Linked DNA regions of Homo sapiens: region 1 is linked to region 2. The links are contacts of gene promoters, found by promoter capture Hi-C in human tissues and cell types (Jung and others, 2019). All regions are on one chromosome and are shown on one strand. The core of a region is centred on a gene start or on the middle of the fragment in contact, and the rest is flanking DNA. Distances in the headings are between cores, read along the strand shown. Region 1 overlaps LOC112268461 (a long non-coding RNA gene). Region 2 holds the start of LINC00955 (long intergenic non-protein coding RNA 955).

Region 1 (4,212 bases), core at 1,708-4,207, 55 kb after region 2:
TCTTCAGGGACAGGGATTTGCGGCTCCCTCCCACCCCCTCACTCACTGCCCTGTGATCAATAAGCCCTTTCTCTGCTGCAAACCCTGCTGTCTCCACGTCAGGGGTGTGTTACAGCGCTGTGGGCATACACATCTGCTGGTCCTGTAACACATGTGCGTGCCTCCTCCATCGGACGGGCTCCTTGGGGCGGGCCTGGAGTGTCTGTCGGGTGCAGGAACGTGGTCTCCACTGCAGCCTCTGAGCTCATCTGGCGAGCACTGTCTACTTGATTAGGTTATTTCAGAGGCGTTTTCTCACTTGGTCCTCCCAGCTACCAGTAAGGAAGGTACTAAAAACCTCAATTACATTTATATTTGGGGAAACTGAGGCTCAGCGGGGGACATGACAGAGCAGAAGGCAGACCCCAAGACAGACCAGCAGGCAGCAGGAGAAGCAGGCTTGGGCCCTGGCTCCCTCTGAGTCCAGAGTCCCTTTCTGGGCTCTTCCCTTGGTGCCCAGTGCGGTGCTGACAACAGGTGTCAACTCATGGAATCCCCGAACCAGCCCATTTACTGCTGGGGAAACTGAGGCTTAGAGCTGCGCCTGAGCCTGAACTGAGGCTGCAAAGGCAGCGCACACAGACGCAGGGCCCTCTGCTCCAGAGCCTGGCTGTGGTGACGCCTCGAGGCATTGGCCCACCCCACAGCCCCGCTTTGCTGCTGTGGAGCTAGGGGTGTGGGAAGGGGCCTCGGGCCCGGGAGGGTGGGAGGAAGAGCCCCTGGGCAGCCTGCAGGTGAGACCCTTCTCCCGCTGCCAGCCTGCTCACCAAGCCACCCTCAGAACATCGCTCAGCACCTCTGCCCAGAAACTGGAAAGATAACTGGGTCATGGCAAAGAGTGAATTATTCCTCCGGAGAAAGTTTTAAAATGCATGAGCCCTCAATGGCAGAGAGGGAGGCAGTTATGAAGCTCAGAGGCAGTCTTGGAATTGGAGTCACAGAGTGGCTCCTTCCCTGTGCCTTCCGGGGTTCAGGGAGGAGCTGGACAGGACCCCCATCCGTAAAGGAGCCCCTATTCTGGTGGGAGAGACAGAGACCCAGACGTGAGTGCTGGCAATGTGGGGAGGTCAAAGCTATGACCTCTCAGGGCTGTAGGAGGAGAGGGAGCGCCTGGGGCCAGCCTGGAGGGGGAAAAGGAGGGTCAGGGAGCACCCACAGAAGAGGGGACAAGACAATGAGGGGCGCCTCAGGGGGAGGGGACCGTGCAGGCTGAGGCTGGGGTTTACAATTTCCTAGCGTGGTGAGACTCCTTTGAGGACCGCTGAAAGGGAGGGCACCCCAGCTAGTGCAGCAGGCACGGTGGGACCTCGGGCAGCACAGGGAGCCCCCTGACCACAGGTGGCCTGAAAGTCGGGATAGGAGAACTCCTACACATGCTTCAGGGCCCTGCTCAAGTGTCGCAAATCCCTCCCAAAGGCTGAGGATACCGCATCTGAGAAATGGGCTTCTGAGCATGTGTCAGACATGGCCCAGGAGGCATCAGCCAGGGCGGGGCTCGGGGGCTCCTAGGAGCTGCTCCTAGCTGCTGTGCCCTGCCTGCTGGTCACCCGTCCTGCACTAGGCGATAGGGTTCTGGAGGGCAGCAGGACCATGTCATAGGAGGTGTGAATGGGGCTTTGCTGCAGGCTGTGGGCGGGGACTGGGGCTCCTGGGGGCCGAGGCACATGGCAGGCAGGGGAAGAAGCTGGGGCGGGGTGCAGAGGGTGGGGAGAGAGCACTCTCCCGGCCCAGGCCTCACCCGGAAATGGGAGGTGATTTTCCAGCACAGGCAGCTTCTGGGCTTAGAGGCTGGACGTTGCCTCAGTGAGCTACGGGCAGTGTTCCTCCTGGGGTGGGGTGGGAGGGGGGTCTTATGGCCCCTGGGGACCTTGGGGCCGGGTGGGGTCTAGTGCCCTGGGAGGGTCCCAGTGTGGGAGAAGGAGGGGTCGGGGGGTGGTTTAGGCATGTAAAGGGTGGAGATGCCCCTGTAAGTCTGGAGCTGGCAGCCCGGGTGTCTCAACTGCAGCCTTTAGGGCCGCAGTGGACCAGCAAAGGCTTCACCTCCCTGGGGACCCCAGCAGAGCGCGAGGCAGGAGCCCCTGTAGGCCTTGATCCCACTTTTCTCTGGGCGGGCCCGCGGCAGCAGATGTTTGATGAGCCGGAGATGGGGAGCCTGCCTTGCATGGCCTTGCCCTGCCTGCATGGGCGCTCACCCTGCCCCACCCTCCAGGACACTCCGTGGGGCATCACTGCTGCCCCGTGAGGATCCCCCTTGCGGGGTGGAGGTGTGTGAGGAGCCGTGTCTGGGGCCTCAGAAGATGCTGGTCCCCTGCCCTGTCTACACAGCCTGGCTGTCCTGGGGGGATGGGGAGACAGGACACAGGCCACGGGTCTGTGCGGGCTGCTGTGCGTCTGGGGAGAGCCAGCACCCCGAGGGAGGAGGTGGCTGCTGGGGAGCAGGATGAAGCAGGAAGGGGTCACCCCACTGAATGGGGTGTGGGTGCAGTCCATTCGTCCTGAAGCCACACATGCCTGGTTTGTGGCCTTTGACTCATGCTGGTGATGGTCACCGTGTGTCCAGGACAGAGCCTGGAAGATTAAGAGCGTGTTTAATTTTTACCACTGGCCGGTGATGCTGGTGTTTTCAGAGGGGAACTGAGGCCTGTGGAAGGGAAATAGCTGACCGGGGGCAGAACACTGCTGGCCAGTGACAAAGGGAGGGACCTACACCGGCTGTGTGCCTCTAACACGCGTCCTCCCACGTGGCACCACCCACAGCGACCCCAGCCCCCTTGCCTTTCTTCAGCGCCTGTATGGGGCCAAGAACCCGAGACTGGGCTGGTGACTGGGCTGTGACCACAGGCCCCTCCTCTCCAGCTGGGGTCAAACAAACACAGCTCGCCCACGCAGGGTCATCTTGAAGCTGAGGATGGAACTTGAGAAAACATGTTTCTTTGTTTGGCAATGAGGTCTGCGGAGGGTTCTGAGGGTTTGGAGACATTTTCTTCCTGGAGAGGGCCCTCGTTCCTCCCAGGTATTTGACTCCTACTCCCTGCGAAGCCTCCGAGAGCCGTGCTGGGCTCTCCTTCCTCGGCCGCCTCCTCTCCAGGGCAATAGCCCTACTGAGTCCTTGCTCACCTCCAGATGACTCTTCTGTGGAACTTTCCAGTGGAGAAGGAGGAGGGAGAGGAGAAGCAGGGAGCAGCCCGGCCTTCCTCCTCTGTGCCCACTGCCCTCCTGCCATGGGCCCTGTCTGGGCACCCACTTAGGGGTCTCCAGCCTGACTGGTGGCACTGCGGCCTCCCCATGGCTCTAAGGCTGTCTGGGGTGTCCAGGAGTCACAGAGATGGAAACAGATTCACCTCAGTTCCTGCAGTGCCTGCTCCCGACACCATATGTTCAGGGTTAGACGGTGTCCCCCGTAAAGTCATGTTCATCCAGAACCTCAGAATGTGACCTTATTTGGAAATAGGCTCTTTGCCGGTGGAATTAGTTCAGATGAGATATGGGGGTAGGGTGGGCCCTGAACCTGGTGATGGGTGTCCTCACAGGAAGAGGGAAATCCAGACTCAGACACAGAGAGGAGGAGAAGGAGGCTGAGACGACAGAGTAGACAGTGGGGTGATGCGGCCACAAGCCAAGGACGCCTGGAGCCACCAGGAGTGGAAGACGCAGGAAGGGTGCTCCTGCAGAACCTTCAGAGGCAGCACGGCCCTGCCCGCACCTCCATCTGGGACGTGGGACTCCAGACTGCGAGGGAGTGGACGCCCGTTGTTGAAGCCCTGTGTGGGCACCCCTATCGCGGCAGCCCTGGGACTCCTCAACTGTGCCCTGTCACCTCTCACCCTGCTGCTGGAGAGGCTCGGTTTGCTCCTGGAAGTCGTGACTGTGAAACGTGGATGTTTTGCTGTGACGTCCATTGCTACTCTCATGCTGGGGTCCTGCTCTCTCTGTCCAGGTTCCGTCACCGCAGAGCTGGACATCAAGGCCGAGGACCTTCTCAGTGGGCAGAAGTGTGTCTCTACAAATAGTGCCAGGTCCTTTTCATTATCCTCCCTGGTCCCTCCCCTCCCCTCCCCCTTCCCCTCCCTCCCTCCTTCCCTCCCTCCCTCCTTCTCTCCCTCCCTCCTTCCATGTCTGGAGAGAACCCCGGCTTGGAGCAGGCATGCTCTGCTCTGTTACCGAGTTGTGAGG
Region 2 (4,431 bases), core at 79-2,578:
GCTGGGCCTCACTGGACGCCATACCCCTCCCGCTGGAACAGTGCGTAGGTGTTCCGCCCTCCAGGGCAGACTGACCGCAGGATGAACGCCCCCGCCCCACAGGTGCCCAGCGCTTCACAGCTCACAGAGCCCTTCGACCTCCCTGGCCTGGGATGACCCTCTCAACACCCCCAGGAGGAGACACCGGTGCTGCCTTCAGCAGGGAAACCTGGGCTTGGATAGGTGCAGCGGCTCCTCCAAGGTGGCCAAGCTGCCTGGCCCTCGCTCATGAATTCTGAGTAGCCCCTCCTGTCACTGCCACCCACTGCTCTCCCCGGAGGCCTGTGTGTCCTTTGTTCTCTCCTGAGGATGGCTGTGGCCTCCTCCTGTTCCTGACAGGGCCCGGTGCCCACTGGCTCATGTCAGAGTTCAGGCCTGAGGGGAGGGGTGTTTGTGCTAACAGGAGGCAGAGGGCAGCCTGCCAGTCTGGCCCTGTGGCCACCTGAGCTGTCCCCTGGGACCCGTGGCTTCATGACTCTGACCCAGTGGATGCTGTCTTCATAGTCTGAGTGGGAGCCAGGTTTGACCTTGGAGTGCCTGGGGCATAGAGTCCCTGTCCTCTGGAGGAAGAGATGGTCATCCCTTTTCATGCTGACTGGCCCCAGGGCAGGACCTGCTCTTTTGGACCCTAAAAGGGACAAGGCCTGGTGGCAGAGCAGAGCTGGGGCTCAGGAGAGGGAGACGGGTGGGAGGAAGGGAGGAAGAGGAAGAGAAGGAGGAAAGGGGGAGATGAGGAAGGGGGAGGAAGAGGAGGAGGAGGAGAAGGAAGAGGAGGAGGAGGAGATGACTCAGGCACCCACGGCATTACTGTGGCAGGCTGGCCCTCGGTTTCCCCAGCAGTAAATGAAGAGATGGGGTCAAGGGGCCCAGGCCCCCTTCCAGATCTGAGACCTGCGCATCAGGCTGTCTGTATTCAGAGGAAGCCGGGGATGGCAGCTCCCAGCCGTGGGCTCGGCCTTCATTCACTGTACAGGCTCATCCATTCACCCAGTGAACCCTCCCGAGTCCCTTCATGAGGGCGGCCTCGCAGGGACTTTGGTCTCGGCTCTGCCCTGTCCTGGCCTTGGGACCCTGGGTGAGCTGAGGCAACCCAGTTTCCTGGTCTGTGACTCCAGGCTCTGTCCTCGCCCCATCGCCCCCCATCGTGGCACAGGTTCGAGGGTGTTGGCTTGCCTGGCCTCCTGAGGGCCTTCTGGGGTTAAAGTCTTCTATCCTGAGGCTGAGACCAGGGCTGGGGAGGAGGTTCAGCCCCTGTGGACTTTATCCTCCCTCTCCACGGCTGAGTCTTGATTTACAGCTGGAAGGGCAGACGGAGGCATCTTGGTGTATACACAGCCCTGCTGGGCCACATCCCGGGTCTCCTCCCTCTGCGATGCCATAGCAGGGGCGCCTTCCGAAAGCCCTCTGGATTGAGGCAGCAGGATCTATGGTGGAACCTGCCCCGGCGTCGCCAACGCCCCTAGGACCCCAGCACACTGACTGGGGAGCATCCCTGTGTCGTTTCTGCCCGGAGAGGAGCAGAGGCCAGGCTGCTGCTCTGGGAGGTGAGTGTCATGCCTGGGAACACAGCGGGGACCCCAGGGAGGGAGAGCAGGTGTTTGCTCCCTGGGCTCTGCCTGGTGGTCCTGACAGCAGTCCTGACTGTTGCGAAGGCTGTTTTTTGGTGGCTTCCTTAGGGTCCTCGCTGTGCTCTCGGTCCCAGCACTGTCTGCTCTCCTTCCTGGTTATTTGAATGACCCGGCTCCTGTTGCTGTATCCCGGGTCCTGACCTCCCCTGAGATGGACTCTGTTCAGGCTAGACTGCCTCAAGGGACCCGCTTCAGTCTATTTGTGGCAGAAAAGGTTAGCTGGCTCCTGGGAAATGTCAGGGGATAAGTCAAAGCTGGCCAGCGGCAAGGCCCAGTGACGCCCTGTCATTTTATGACTCCCTTTTCTTAATCAGTCGAGGAGAAAAACAAGCAATGAAGGATTTTCCATGGCAACCACCAGCAGGGCAGTGTTCTCTCCCTACCTGAGCTTGTTTTAAGAAGAGGGGTCTGGCCAGAGGCTGCTGACCCTGGCCCCAGAGGGCAGGGGTCGAGTGTCCTGGAGTGTGACTCCCAGGCACCTGGGCTTGGGCTGGGCCCCTGGAGCAGGCGCAGCTAATCTGGCCAATCTACTCCTTCACACTCATGGAGCAAATGGGGAAACAACCCAGAGAGGGGCAGCCCAAGGAAGCAAATTTGTAGAGCCTGACACTCTGAGAGAGCTCTCAGAAGGATACTAGTCTTCTAAACCAGAAACTTATTCATATAATAATAATAATGTTTATAATAATAACATTATTAATTCCTTCACCATCCACCCACTTACTCACCCTCTTACCCATCTGTCCATTCAACTCATCCACCCCCACATCCAGCCAGCTTCCATCCTATCATACATTCATCCACCTACCCGTCCACCCTTTCATCCTTCCTTTCTTTCATCACCCACCCATCCTCTCACTCATTCATTCATCCATCCACCCATCCATCCATCTACCCATTCATCCACCCATTCATTTATTCACTCTCCCATCCACCCATCCATTCACCCTTTCTTTCTTTCATCATCCATCTATCCACCCATCCATCCATTCATCCACATATTCGTCCACCCATTCATTATTCACTTATCTATCCATCCTTCCAACCATCCATCCATTCATCCACCTATTCTATTCACCCACCCATCCTTTCATGCTTTCTTTCTTTCATCATCCATCCATCCATCCATCCATCCATCCATCCATCCATCCGTCCATCCATCCATCCACCTATTCCATTCACCCACCTATCCATTCATTCACTCACTCATCCATCCATCCACCCATCCGTCCTCCCTTTCTTTCATCACCCACCCATCCATTCACTCACCCATCATCCATCCACCCAGCTAGCCAGCTTCCATGTCTATATCCAACTACTCACTCATCCATTCACCCATCAACCTAACTAAACTTGTTTTCTCCCATGTAACACAATACTTATCCACCCATCCATCCGTCAACCTACCCAACCACCCCATAACACGCCCACATCCTTCCCTTTGCCCATCTGTACACATACTTATCTACCTCTCCTATACCCATATACCCATGACATCCACTCACCCATTCATGCATGATCCTCCTACACATTCACTCACTTACCCATTGACTGCTTCACCTACTTATCCACTACTCCCCATTCACCCATACCCTCATAAAACTTCTATCCATCCATTCTATCCACCTACTCAAACAACCACCTATCAACCCATCTACCCATCAGACTGTGGTCCACCCACCTATCCATCCACCCATCTACCCATCTACCCAAAGACCCATCATCCATCCTCTATCCACCCATCTATCCATCCATCCATCCATCCATCCATCCATCCATCCATCCATCCAAACACCACACATCACTCGTATGACTTTAGAAGCTTTGTCCACAGATTCCAACTCAGCTTTGAGATTTGGATCATCCAAATTTGCTTCCTGGGCTGCCCCTCTGGTCTGTTTCCCCATCTGCTCCACGAGTGTGAAGGAGTAGATCAGCCAGATTAGCTGCGCCTGCTTCAGGACTCCAGCCAAGTTTGGGTGTCTGGGAGCCACACTCCAGGTCTCACCAGGAAGACTATGCCAATCATGGAGAAGTCTGATAAATGCAAAACCCATTTGAACCCCCTGGGTGGGGTTTATAGATGTGCATGAAAGGAACAGGATCAAGTTCTATATGGGGTCGAGGGCTCAAAACCAAACTCTAAGATCTGGAGTCCCTGTAACAATACATAAATAGGTTTCTGCAACTCCCGTCTGTGTGGTAGATGAAAATACCATCAGTACACTGACTGATAATGCTAGTATTTTCTAACCTCCAATTACCTAGATAATGCTGCTCAAATCTCTTAGTTGTTTCCTCAGTGAAAAAAAAAAATGTTTAAACCCAAGGGAATATTTAGAATTAGGTACAGAAATGTTTTATGGTATCAACTTCCAGTATTCATAGTTTTGAGTGAAGGAATCTGGGCGTGTTTGGTATTATAAGCATTTGTGATGTTTAAGAGATTTGGGGTTATTAGAAGGGACAGTTTGGCCTTTTAATTAACATTTGAAATATACACTGAATTACTTGATTTAGACTTATGACTATCAGTTGAAATCATAAAGTTTATATAAAATGTTGGAACATTTAAGAGAATCTAAGTTTCATCATATTAGGAAGTTATGTTTTTAAATTTAAAAGAACTAGTTAATTTGGGAATATTTGTCAGGCAAGATCTAATATATTAAGTTTGTTGATGTAATTAAGTTTTTGAAGGTGTTTTATTAAGTAGTAGGAACTACTGCTAATGAAATAACTTTTAGAAAGAGTTTTGAGATTT

The links. Contacts are between HindIII fragments. The study calls those that stand out against the background at their distance.
Region 1: a fragment that was not itself captured here is called in contact with the fragment with the promoter of LINC00955 in region 2 in 8 of the 25 tissues and cell types used here (IMR-90 fibroblasts, adrenal gland, bladder and 5 more).

What each region holds. Positions count from the first base shown.
Region 1 is chr4:3,629,192-3,633,403 of GRCh38, forward strand. It overlaps LOC112268461 (a long non-coding RNA gene), which reads right to left. Exons shown (of 4, transcript XR_002959775.2): 4 at 3,845-4,039. Among named protein-coding and RNA genes, the nearest start is that of LINC02171, 47 kb to the right of the region's middle. RefSeq lists an enhancer at 1,981-2,980. The HindIII fragment of the contact is 8,760 bases long and covers 1-4,212 here.
Region 2 is chr4:3,575,541-3,579,971 of GRCh38, forward strand. LINC00955 (long intergenic non-protein coding RNA 955) reads left to right here and starts at 1,329. Exons shown (of 3, transcript NR_040045.1): 1 at 1,329-1,583. The HindIII fragment of the contact is 13,427 bases long and covers 1-4,431 here.